Regions from separate parts of the Homo sapiens genome. Here region 1 is linked to region 2. The links are contacts of gene promoters, found by promoter capture Hi-C in blood cells and fetal thymus (Javierre and others, 2016). All regions are on one chromosome and are shown on one strand. The core of a region is centred on a gene start or on the middle of the fragment in contact, and the rest is flanking DNA. Distances in the headings are between cores, read along the strand shown.

Region 1 (5,603 bases), core at 3,104-5,603, 1.4 Mb after region 2:
TTTTTTTTTTTTTTTTTAGAGGCAGGGTTTCACCATGTTGCCCAGGCTAGTCTCGAACTCCTGAGCTCAGGTGATCTACCTGCCTCGGCCTCCCAAAATGCTGGGATTACAGGAGTGAGCCACTGCACCCAGCCTTATAGATGTATTTCTCCTCTCTTTTCCTCATTTCTGCTTGCCCTTTTACCTTCTCCCTTCTCTAAGGTGATAATATAAGGAAGGAAGTATGGTGTCACAGAATAAGCACAGGACTAAGGGCCAACGGACCTGAGCTCTGGTCTCAGCTTTATGACTTAACCATGGTGTGATCTTGTTTTTTCCCATGTTAAATGGGAATAACCTCTGCCCTACCAAGCCTTAGGGTTGCTGAGTGACTCAAAGAAGATAAAAACAGCGAACAGATCTATTGAACTTACTGCCTCCCAGGCACTATTCTAAGAGCTTCACATGCATTAAGTCCACCTACGAGGCTTAGGAAGAAGCTGAGGTGTACAGAGGATGACACTCATCCAAAGTCTCAGAATTGCTACGTGGCAGAGCTGGGATTCACACCCAACCAGTCTGGCTCCAAAGTCTGTGCTTTTAACCCCCTACGCTATATTATGCCTCACATACACTTTGAATACGAAAATGTTTGGGAAAAATAGAGGTATAAAAATATAAAGTATCACTGTAGTACAAAGTGCTTAGTTTAGTTATGCAAACACCCCAAAGAAAAATCAATCTACCCATTGTAAACAGAGAAAATATTTCTCCTGGGTTCTAATCTGTGGTTCTCTTAGGTAATAAAACCGATGCTGGCATGAAGTTTAGGCTTCTGGATAATAAAGAGCTCCCTGAGATGTGTTGCAAATAAAAATCCAACTACTACCCTTATCCTTTATCTGACGTCACTGAAAGCATTTGTCTTCTTTTTTAATCCTGTATACAATCATTCCCAAACACTGAAAGCATTTCTAATATAAAATTAGGCCAGGACAGTGGTTCATGCCTGGTAATCTCAGCACTTTGGCAGGCTGAGGCAGGAGGATTGCTTGAGAGCAGGAGTCCAAGATCAGCCTGGACAACATAGCGAGACCCCATTTCTACAAAAATTTTAAAAGTTGTTAACAAGGAGCCGGGCATAGTGGCGCATCCCTGTAGTCCTAACTACGCAGGAGGCTGAGGTGGGAGAATCACTTGAGCCCAGGAGTTCAAGGTTGCTGTGGGCTATAATCGTGCCACTGCACTCCAGCCTGGGTGACAGAGAAGGATCTTGTCTAAATAATAATAATAATAATAATAATATAAAATTAAAAGGTTCTGTTGTTGATGATTCTTTGCTGTGCTAGAGTCACATATTATCAGGCTGATTGGGAAAGAAATCAATTGAGAAGCGTGCACAGATAGGTTAACATGTCGCCACCTTGGGCTTTAGGAAGAGGCTTGGTGGAGTAGAGGGTGTTTGCACAGGAGGGCCAGTGTCTGGGTTCTGGTCTAGGCTGCTCTTGCCTCAGTCTCAGTTTCAGATTCCTGTACATTGGAAAGGGGCTGTGAGCCTCTCCATTGTTGGCTTTTTTGATGGACTTTCTTTCCTGTAGTAGATGCTCATTATTTGCTCACCTTGTGGGAAAACAACAATTTCAATTTTACCCAGCATCTTTGAAACAGAAAGAATGATTAATTTTCCTTAAAGTAAAATGGAGCACTTGTCCTTCAAGTTGCCTGCTTAGGTCTCTCCCAAGCATACTCTACTTTCTTTCCTGTTCTAAAGTTTTTTGTTGTTGTTTTTTGAGATGCAGTCCTGCTCTGTCGCCCAGGCTGGAGTGCAGTGGTGCAATCTCAACTCACTGCAACCTCCGCCTCCCGGGTTCAAGCGATTCTCCTGCCTCAGCCTCCTGAGTAGCTGGGACTACAGGCATGCGCCACCATGCCCAGCTAATTTTTGTATTTTAGTAGAGATGGGGTTTCAGCATGTTGGCCAGGATGGTCTCCATCTCTTAACCTCGTGATCCGGCTGCCTTGGCTTCCCAAAGTGTTGAGATTACAGGTGTGAGCCACTGCACCCGGCCTAAAGTTTTTTAAAATAAACTTCCACTCCTGCTCTGAAGCTTGCCTCGGTCACTTTTTCTGCCTTATGCCCCCAGTTGAATTTTCTTCTGAGGAGACAAGATTGAGGTTGCTGCAGGTGTCTACTGATTTGCCACTGGTAACATATTTGGTGCCACGTGACTCAGATGGTAAGGGATCTCTATGCCTCGCTTTCTTCTGCTGGAGGCATCTGATCCCTGTGCAGTTTTTCTTCTCCTCCCTCTCTCCTGCTTACTAAACAACCCCCAGAACAATTCCTCTTGGCCATACGTGACTCTGCTCTCTGCCAGTTGATTTCTTAGCTCACTCTGGTGGGTGGCTCATGGGAGTGGGAAGGACCCTAGGGTCTGCATCAAGCAGATCAGAGGCACTATATGGCCCTCCTTGATAGGAGGCTTGAGACTGGTGAGGCTAGGGCCTAAAAACCGTGCAGTGTCTGGGGTTTCCTCTGCCTTTTTTTCCAATGAAAATAACGAAACCTGTTATTTCCCATTGAGGGGGAAAAAGGCGGGAGAAGCCCCAGCAGAAATGAAGCTGCTCCTGAAGCTTCCAACATGAAACTCACCTCGGCACTGGTAAAAAGAGGGCTCAACCTGTCTCTAGATTTACAGTCTAATGCTTGCTCTGCCATTTTACCCTCATACTTATGTTCATCAATCATTGATGAAAAAGAAAAGAAAAAAAAAATGACTGGAATAAGGGCACCTTACTGGTAAGAAAGAACCAAACCTCAAACCCGTACCTTCTATGTCATGGTGTTCTGGGTATCAGCAATAACAACAGTCACCCTTTTACTGAGCATTTACTCATGTTAATTACTGGGTGTATTAGAGTTCTTCAGAGAAACAGAACCAATGGCATATATTTACATCTAGAAAGGGATTTGTTATAAGGTATTAGCTCATGCAGTTATGGAGGCTGAGAAGTCCCATGATCTGCTGTCTGCAAGCTGGAGACTTGTTAGCAGGAAGGCTGGTGTTGTAGCCTGAAGGCCTGAGAGCCAAGGGTGTAGGTTCCAGCCTGAGTGTGAAGGCCTCAGCACCAGGAGCACCAAGGGCAGAAGATATCCCAGATCAAGCATGCAGGAGGAGACAGGACACATTCTTCCTTCTTTGGCTTTTTGTTCTATTTAGGCCCTCAACAGACTGGATGCTGCCCACCTACTTTGGGGAGGGCAATCCACTTTACTCAGTCTATCCATTCAAATGCTCATCTTTTCTGAAAACAACTTCACAGACACACCAAGAAATAATGTTTAACCAGATATCTGGGCATCCGTGATCCAGTCAAGATGACATGTAAAAGTAACTATCACACTGGGCTAAGCATTTTACATGCAAGACTGCAATCCTCACTTAAACCTGCAAGGTAGGTGGTGTTAGCCTTATTTGCAGGAGGTGAAACCAAGTCCCTGGGAGGTTTGAGTAACTTGTCCCAGGTCACACAGCACAGTAAGTGGGAGAGATGGAATTTGGATCCTGGTCTGAAGCCCATGCTCAGTCTCCTAACCACTTGCTACCATCCCTCTGCCTCATTAAGATAAATTCTGAGCTAAAGATGAACACTGAACGAGTGGTAAGCAATCTACTACCTGCTGAGTTCAGTTCCCTAGGGTCAGTACTGTATTTACTTTCACATTCACTATTCTAATTCACACTTTGACCATGAGCTCAACACTGGGAACTAATCTGAGGGCATAAAGTAAGGCTTTTTCCCCTACTTGTCTTACAAAAGTGATCCTGTTTACTGTGAAAGATTTGCAAACTACAAAAAAGTATAGTTCCTCAAAAAAATAAACATAGAATTACCATATGATCTAGCAATTCCCCTGCTACATATATACCCCAAAGAATTGAAAGCAGGGACTCGAACAGATATTTGATACTCATGTTCATAGCAACATTATTTACAACAGCTAAAATGTAGAAGTAACCAAAATGTTTACCGACAGATAAGTAGATAAACAAAATGTGGTCTATACATGCAATGGAGTATTATTCAGCCTTAACAAGGAAGGAAATCCTAATGCATGCTACAGCATGGGATAAACTTTGAAGACATCATGCTGAATGAAATAGTCACAAAAGGAAGAATATTGTGTTACTCCACTTACATGAGGTTTCTAGAATAGTCAAATTAATAAAGATGGAAAGTAGAAAGGTCATGGAGGGAAAATAAGGGAGTTGTTTAACTACAGTTTCAATTTTGCTAGATGAAAAGAGTTCTGCCAATGGATAGTGGTGGTGATGGTTGCACAATGTGAATGCACTTCATGCCACTGAACTGTATCTTTAAAAATAGTTAAGATGGTAAAATGTATGTTATGTATCTTTTACCACCATAAAAAAAGTATAAAGAAACAGGAAAAAAAATTGGCTATGGTATCTCAGTGCAACTCTGTTGATATGTTCACATGGTCTTTCTGAGTCTTTTTTCTAATCTTAGCCTTTTGATGGGTCTTTTTTGACAGCTTCCTCTCTTCTCCATTACAGGAACATGTTTTTGCAGTTGTGCGACCCAAAGAGGCCATTTCAAGCTGCCCCATCAGATGTGGAGCGCTGATGTGTAAGTATTACTTTAATATCCATGACATGGCTGGGTAGACAAGAGACTCCCAGGAAAGACCGAAATCACAGAACACGATTATGGGCAATCTGGGCTCCTGGGGACCTTTAGGGCACGCCATCTCGTACTGATGAAGGATCACTGATTTATCAGATGTTACCCTGCTTAAACAGAAGCAGCCTATTAGCGCAGCTCACACCATTCCTAGAATCAAACATATCCAACCCACCCCCCTCATTTTACAGAGAAAAATCAATTGAGAACCGCAGATCTTATTCCTAGAAAGCTGATGAACCCTGTTTCTCTCGCAATGGGAAGACCTGGCTGCCCCAGGCTGCATCCCCACCTGCCACAGGGGCTGGCGCTCGCTCTGCAGTTGGCCGCAGTCCCCTCCACTCTTCTCTCCAAATAGGCTCGGGTCTTTAACCTAGACTACCCCACTGGCCCCGAAGCATTTTTTTTTTTTTTTAGATAGGGTCTACCTCTGTCGCCCAGGCTGGAGTGTGGAGTGCGGTGGCGCGATCTCGGCTCACTGCAACCTCCGTCTCCTGGGGGCATGCGATTCTCCTGCCTTAGCCTCCTGAGTAGCTGGGACTACAGGCGCGCACCACCACACCTGGCTAGTTTTTGTATTTTTAGTAGAGATGGGATTTCGCCATGTTGGGCAGGCTGGTCTCGAACTCCTGACCTCAAGTGATCCACCCATCTCGGCCTCCCAAAGTGCTGGGATTACAGGTGTCCGCCACCACGCCCGGCTAATTTTTGTACTTTTAGCAGAGATGAGGTTTTGCCATGTTGGCCAGGCTGGTCTCGAACTCCTGACCTCTGGTGATCCACCCGCTTTGACCTCCCTAAGTGCTGGGATTACAGGCGCGAGACACCGGGCCCGGCCCCCCGCCGAAGCATTTTTAACTGCGGTGCCGGCTTTAAAAAAACTTTTAGGTCAAGAAATGCGCTCCAGAAGCTCGGCG
Region 2 (7,043 bases), core at 4,543-7,042:
AACTTCTGTAGGTCAAATTTATCATAAACAAAGGTGAAAGGCAAAAAGACTAGGAAAAAAATGTTAACTTATAATAGCTTTAAAGTGTTCACAGCAAGTTGAATTAGACCAACATATACATACATACATAAATACATACACACACACACACACACACACACACACACACACACACACACATATATGAGATTCCCAAACAAAACAATCTATTCTGCTAGGATGGTTGTTTCTACAAAACTTATCCTGAAAAATTGTAGCATAAAAGATATTGTTGACCAGGTGCGGTGACTCATGCCTATAATCCCAGCACTTTGGGTGGCAGAGGCAGGCGATCACCTGAATCGGGAGTTCGAGACCAGCCTGACCAACATGGAGAAACCCCGTCTCTACTGAAAATACAAAATTAGCCAGGCGTGGTGGTGCATGCCTGTAATCCCAGCGACTCAGGAGGCTAAGGCAGGAGAATCGCTTGAACTTGGGAGGACGAGGCTGCAGTGAGCCAAGACTGCGCATTGCACTCCAGCCTGAGCAACAAGAGTGAAACTCCGTCTCAAAAAACAAACAAACAAACGAAAAAGCTATTGTTAGCAAAAGGTAACTGAGAAACTAGAGAGAGTCAAACTACAAACTACAATCCGTTACTTGTATGAGTGTTAAAGTCTAAACATCACTGAGCAGGCTGGTGTTTACCCTGCCGCCCCATCACATAAGTCAGAGCCATAGCTACTCTCCCCAGTCACCCCCAGCCCTAAAACTAGCCCCTCCACAAGGCTTCACACACCTCTTTGTACCCAATTTACCATTAAGCATCCTGATAAGCCATGAAGTAAAAACTAAGCTATGAAAGAAACTAATAATTAAAAGGAAATTAGAGCATGTGCATAGGAATCACCTCTGGAAGGAAAAAAAAAAAAAAAGCTTAAAGATAAATTCATGATTAGGAGAAAGTTGCCAAAAACTAGGCATACTTATTCCATCTATACTTACTTTCTAAAAGACTAGTTAATTCATGTTTCAACAGAAGTCTACCAATGACAAGTCAAACCATGTATAATCTCACAGCCACTCTTGATTCGAGCTGCCAAATTAGCAAAACATAATACTTGGAGTTTGGCTTACTTCCCTTTAAACTTGGCACTACCCAGTAAATCCAGTATGTTCAGGAATTTGCAATTGCTAAACAAAATCCAGTACTCCGGTTTGCCAAAGACTCACTGACTATTTTTTCTTCCCACGGTTCAGTCTAGAATACAGATTTTTAACCCAAGATCCAGGGACAGTCTGCAGAGAGTCCAAAATCTCCTGAAATAAAATGCAGAATTACATGCAGACGTATATTTTTCCAAGAAGAAGGTCCATAACTTTCATCAGACTTTATCTCAAAGGGGTGGGTACCAACAATCAAAACAAAAGTGATGTAAGAATCATCCAACTGGAGGTAGCTGCTAGCAAAAATGTCTAACTGTACTATATGTAACTTCCCCAAAATACTACTGCTAAGTCTAAAACACTCATGTATGATTTCTTTCTTGGACTCTTTATGCTTTACTCAGTATGAATAAATTGTTTGATCAACTAAAAAATTAGAACATTAATTTTTGCCTATCAAATTAGCAGTAAAACACTCAGGCAATACTTAGTGGTGCTCTAAACCGTAACAACTTTCTAGGGCCAGGCAAGGTGGCTCACGCCTATAATCCCAGCGCTTTGGGAGGCCAAGGCAGATCACTTGAGCCCAGGAGTTAAAGATCAACCTGGGCAACATAGGGAGACCCCATCTCTATAAAAAATATGAATATTAGCCAGGTGTGGCGATGCGTACCTGTAGTATCTGGTACTTAGGAGACTAAGACTAAGGTGGAAAGATCTCTTGAGCCCTGAGTTCTGGGCTGCAGTGAGCCACGATCTGTGCCACCAGCACTCCAGCCTGGGCTACAAAGCGCTAAAAAAAAAAAAAAAAAAAAAAAAAAAAAAAAAAAAAGGAATATCAGAGATTATCTAAATTCAACATTCTTATTTTATATAAAAGTTATCTGCACAGCTAATTTCCAACAGAAATGGGATGAAAAATTCATTTACCTGTTAAGTTTAGGCAGTTTTATTAAAGAATAACTGGGGACAAAATAATATCATTCAAAACATTACTAATACTCATTCTTAAGGTTTTTGTTTCTTTTCACTTACAGATGGAGTCTCAGCTATGTTGCCCAGGTTGGCCTCGAACACCTGGGCTCAAGGGATCCTTCTGCCTCAGCCTCAGGAAGAGGTGGGACTACAGGCACACACCCCTGAGTCAGCTATTCTTAAGGTTTTTAAGATGAATTCTGGATATTTAATTCAACTGGGAAAGGTCAGAAACTGGATGAGCCATGATGTATCAAAATCCTGTAAACGCATTTCTATTAAAGAACCTTCTGTGTTCAAGTTACTGTGCTTGGCACTGTATGAGAAATCTTAGAGCAGAATTAAGATGGACTTAAAAATAGCCAACATCAATAACAGCCTCTTCCAAAAAGGTTTCAAAACCGGGAGAATCAAGCGGAAAATCCCGAGTTTGGAGACCGGGATTTTAAATTCTGTCTGTGGTTCTGAAGAGTAACTCTGGGTGATTCTGTCAATCTTTCTGAGCTTCAGTCTCCCCATTTGTAAAAGGAGGTTGAAGTGTCACTGAGGATGAAATGGGTTAATGTTACTGTGCCAAATCCAGCACAAAATGGCCACTCAGTTCCCTTTTGCCCTTAAAACTAGCCAGTTTCTGAAATATCAGAATCAACAGTGCCATGATTTATTTTTAAAACTGTTTAAAAAGACACACACACACCATTTTTCAGTTGATAAAAAATTAGAAAACACAGACAAGAAAATTACCAGCAATTTTACACTTGCATGATAACCATTAACATTTGGTTATTTTTTCTATGCATAATTAGCATCCATATTAGCTTTTTTTCACCCTCCCCTATAGAATTTACTATTTAAGTCCCTCCTAGAGACTCCCAGGGACTGTGCAGACTTGTAACGGGTCCTAACACTGCAGGCCACTTGTTTTTATGCCTATAAGTCTATACTCTAAGCTCCTTTAAAAAACAGTAAAATTCACTTTGCATTCCTAGAACCTAGCCCAGGTTGGGCATCCTGTGGGCCTTTATCAGATAAAGAGGTCAGTCTTACTTAGGACTCCTGAGGGAGTCAAGGTAGCAAGTGATCAAGACCATGGGATCACCTATCCCTGACCAGGTTGAGTCTAACTCTAAGAGGGGGTGTTCACTCTCTGACCTCATCTAGAATAACTCATCTCTTCATCAAGAGTTTACTTCATTAGATCTAATGGCCTTCAAAGGTCAAAATAATGTGTTCCAGGCAGCTATCATGCATCTACCTGACGCCCATACTCAGGTCCTGGAAATGAGAACAAATTGCTCTTGGCAAGCTAGAATTCTAACACTGAAGGTTTTATCCACGTAATTAACAGGGTCCTTCAGGCTACCATTACTCCCTCCATCTAGCCCATCCATCTACATTAGAACATACCTACAGTAGAATTTCCACAAAAGGCTGCATTTTGAAGTTAATTTAGCCTATACTCTTAAAAACTATTTTCTTACTCTAAAAGAATAGTCGGCGTAAAGTTGTCCAAAAGCCACTTAAAATATTCAACTTGAGGAGTAAATTTGTTCTTGCTATTTTGACAAATATTTACTTTTCCTGAGGTAACCATTCACAAATACAGGCCTTTAAAAAAAAAAAAAAAAAAAAGTTCTACCAACAGAAGTCTCTTTGACGTAATCAGTATTCTGGCTAAAATTCAAGCCAAGTGCATCATTGGCAAACAACTAGTTTTACTACTGAGAAAGGACCGGGGTCAACTACAGCACATCCTCCACACACATCCAAATTCGTGCATTCATCACTATTTGTAAATGTTTGAGATTTGAAAGGTCCTCAAGAACTCACTAAAGGGCATAAAATATGCACACAAATAACTGTAATAAAGGCACGCTATGGGGATAATACATATTAAGACAGCTGCTTTGAGGGAAAAATGTCTTTTAAAAATGTTTACTATTTAAAGTTATACTGGATTTTTCTTTGGGGGGGGGATGCAAAACTAATCTTAAACACCATGAAAAACTGTAAACCCAAAACTATAAGCTTTTTTTTTTTTTTTTTTTTTTTTCGAGACGGAGTCTGTCGCCCAGGCTGGAGTGCAGTGGCACGATCTCAACTCACTGCAAGCTCTGCCTCCCGGGTTCAAGCAATTCTCCTGCCTCAGCCTCCCGAGTAGCTGGGATTACAGGCGCGCACCACGATGTCTGGCTAATTTTTGTATTTTTAGTAGAGAAAGGGTTTCACCATGTTGGCCAGGCTAGTCTCAAACTCCTGGCCTCAGGTGATCCGCCTGCCTGGGCCTCCCATAATACTGGGATTACACAGGTGTGAGCCACCGTGCCGGGCTAAAAATAAGCTTTTTAATTTAACGCTCGTTTTTATGAAAAGATTCATCTAAAGACAGAACCAGGATATTCTAATGAAAGGAGTCTATTGTTATTTCACATGGCTAAGAGCGATTGATTACAATCTAAAGAACAGTTCCGGGGTTAACTGAAAGAACTAGCTTATCCACAGAAACCCTTTCAATCCCAGAAGGAGAAATTTAGAATTTGGAAACTGAACATTAGTCATTTCTTAAGGTAAAGCCACTTCATTCCAAAGTCACTGTCTGTTCGCCCTTAATTTATCACCGTAATTTATCTAAGAGGTAAAACTGAACACCGAAAAGGTAAGATGTAGAGTGACAAAAGGAGACGGTGGGTCACAGGGCGAGTGCCCAGGTGACTTCGGGCCTCAGTCCTCTCGCCAGCAAAGGGCGGACAATGACCCCTCCCGTCCCGCCCGGGAAGGCGATCGAGGAAACGCACTGGCCAGGCCCATTTACTGATGCTCAGCAGGGTTTGCAAAAAGCCCCCAACGGGAGGTTTTCATGCTGAAAGTCCTGTTGCCCCCCCATCCCCCACCATCTAATTAACCTGCACGTTACTGTAAGGAAGGTTCTGCTTCCGTAATTTTCTTTATTTCGACAGAGGCTGGAGAAAAAAAATCATAGGCTGGAAGAGGGGAGCGATGGGCAGGCCGATCTGCAGGGCGCAGGAGCAGGCCGGGAGGACCCAGCCCTCCAAGGCTGCATCAGCGCCCCCGCCGCGTGACCAGGGCCACCGGTTTACTGCACAGCTCCCCCGTCCCCAGAACGCAGCCTCCCCGCCAACCCCAGGAACCAAGGGTGCCCAAAGGCCTCCTACCCGGAACCCCGGGGCGCCTCGGGGTCTCTGGGCCGGGTGGGCCGAGTCCTGGCCTCCACAGGCCGCGAGCGCAGGGGGCGGCGGCTCCGCCCGGTCTGGCAGGCGGGGCTGCCACATCCTCAGCCTCTCCCTGCCGCCCGCCCGTCGGCCGCTCTGGGCTGGAACCAGGACTCCGGCCTGCAAGCCGTGGGTCGCCACGCCCCTGCCCCCTGAAGCTGCGCGCCGGCCGGAGACTCCAGGGCGCCCGGGTCCGAGCCGCCCGCAGAGTAAACGGGCCGCTGAAGCGGGGCTCGTTCCCCGGCCGAGGCCCAGCGCGCCCCCTCAGCCAGCATCCCCCGAACCCGGGCCGCGGCCACCCCGCGCCCGCCCGCCTCCCCCGCCGCTGTCAGGGAACCCCGGCCAGGGCCCGAACCAGAGCCCCAGGACAGCGGCGCCCAGACGGTACCTGACAGCGCCTGAGGACAACCGGGTACACGCGGCGTCTATGAAGCGCAACAGTGACGCCGGAGAGTCACTGCAACTTAAAGGCTGATTCTGCCCCGCCCCCAAGACACCCTCGCCGCTCATTGGCTGGGGCGGAGGGCAGGATACCAATCGCGTGGGTCCCGTCCTCCGCCCCGCCCTCCGGCCGCGCATCAAGGATCTTTGCTCCTCCCGCGGATTCGATCCGCGCTCGCGCCTCCTGAGCCCGCCGGCCTGTACCTGAGCTCAGGCCCCTCGGTCGCCTCCTCTGGCGGGACGAGAAGAGTCCTTGTCCGCCCTTGCTGACGAGAAGACTGAGGCCCGAAAAGGAAAAGTCTGTTGGGCCCCCCACTGCGCGGGCCGGGTGTGGCTGGAGGCCGAGAGACGTGAGGCTGGACCGCCCGCCCTGTGCTCCTGGAGGGAGGGACCAGCCCCAGCTCTGCCCCAGCCACAGCTGCGGGAGCCCCATGCCCTTGAACCCTGATGCGCCGCGCGGCTTAGTTGTGCCTCTGAATCCACCTCCAAAAGTCGTCGCTGCCTATGGAAAACACACTGCCCACCTGTTCGCAGCTGCTGTCAGATAATTGAGTGGCAGCAACCCACTCACAGTACAGATTTGCCTGTGGTGCCCTCCACAGCCGGTTATTAAATTCAGAACACAAAATAGATATTCCGGGACAACCTCATGTTAGAATCGGAAGGGACTTGGACTTCACTTAGCCCACAACAAGATGTTAAATATTGGAAAACAGAGACCCAGAGAAGGAAAGCGACTTACCCAGTCATCCAACAGTAGGGGCAGTCTGGTCCTGTGTGCCCCTCGCCACCCCTCTCAGAGGGCAGGCGCTGGCAGCTGCCGGCACCACACTCCATTAGACCACAATGACCAGTCGGGGGCCCAGCTGGAAACAGAGGGCACACTCCAATGTGAACATTTCCTAAAACGTGGTGGTGGGGGCCCGTGGTTCATGCCTGTAATCCCAGCACTTTGGCAGACCGAGGCAGGAGGATTGCTTGATCCCAGGAGTTCCAGACCAGCCTGGGCGACACAGTGAGACCCCGTCTCCACAAAAAAAAATAAAAATTAATCTGGTGTGGTGGCACACCTATGTTCCCAGCTACTCCAAAGGCTGAGGTGGGAGGATCACTTGAGCCCAGGAGGTTGAGGCTGCAGTGACCTATGACTGCACCACTGCACTCCAGCCTGGGCAACAAAGCAAGACCATCTATCTTAATCAACCAATCAATCAATCAATGTAGGCAAGTAAACCACAAGGGATGGAG

What was found. The method cuts DNA at HindIII sites, captures the fragments that hold promoters and counts their contacts. A CHiCAGO score of 5 or more calls a contact.
Region 1: a contact is called between a fragment that was not itself captured here and the fragment with the promoter of OAT in region 2, in 1 of 17 cell types (naive CD4 T cells). The highest score is 8.8, in naive CD4 T cells.

What each region holds. Positions count from the first base shown.
Region 1 is chr10:125,817,234-125,822,836 of GRCh38, forward strand. All of the region lies in intron 1 of UROS (uroporphyrinogen III synthase), which reads right to left. It overlaps MIR4484 (microRNA 4484), which reads left to right and starts at 2,507; the gene lies at 2,507-2,589. The HindIII fragment of the contact is 3,485 bases long and covers 2,612-5,603 here.
Region 2 is chr10:124,413,131-124,420,173 of GRCh38, forward strand. OAT (ornithine aminotransferase) reads right to left here and starts at 5,793. Exons shown (of 10, transcript NM_000274.4): 1 at 5,743-5,793. RefSeq lists silencers at 5,353-5,892, 5,835-6,494 and an enhancer at 6,468-6,982. The HindIII fragment of the contact is 6,386 bases long and covers 4,464-7,043 here.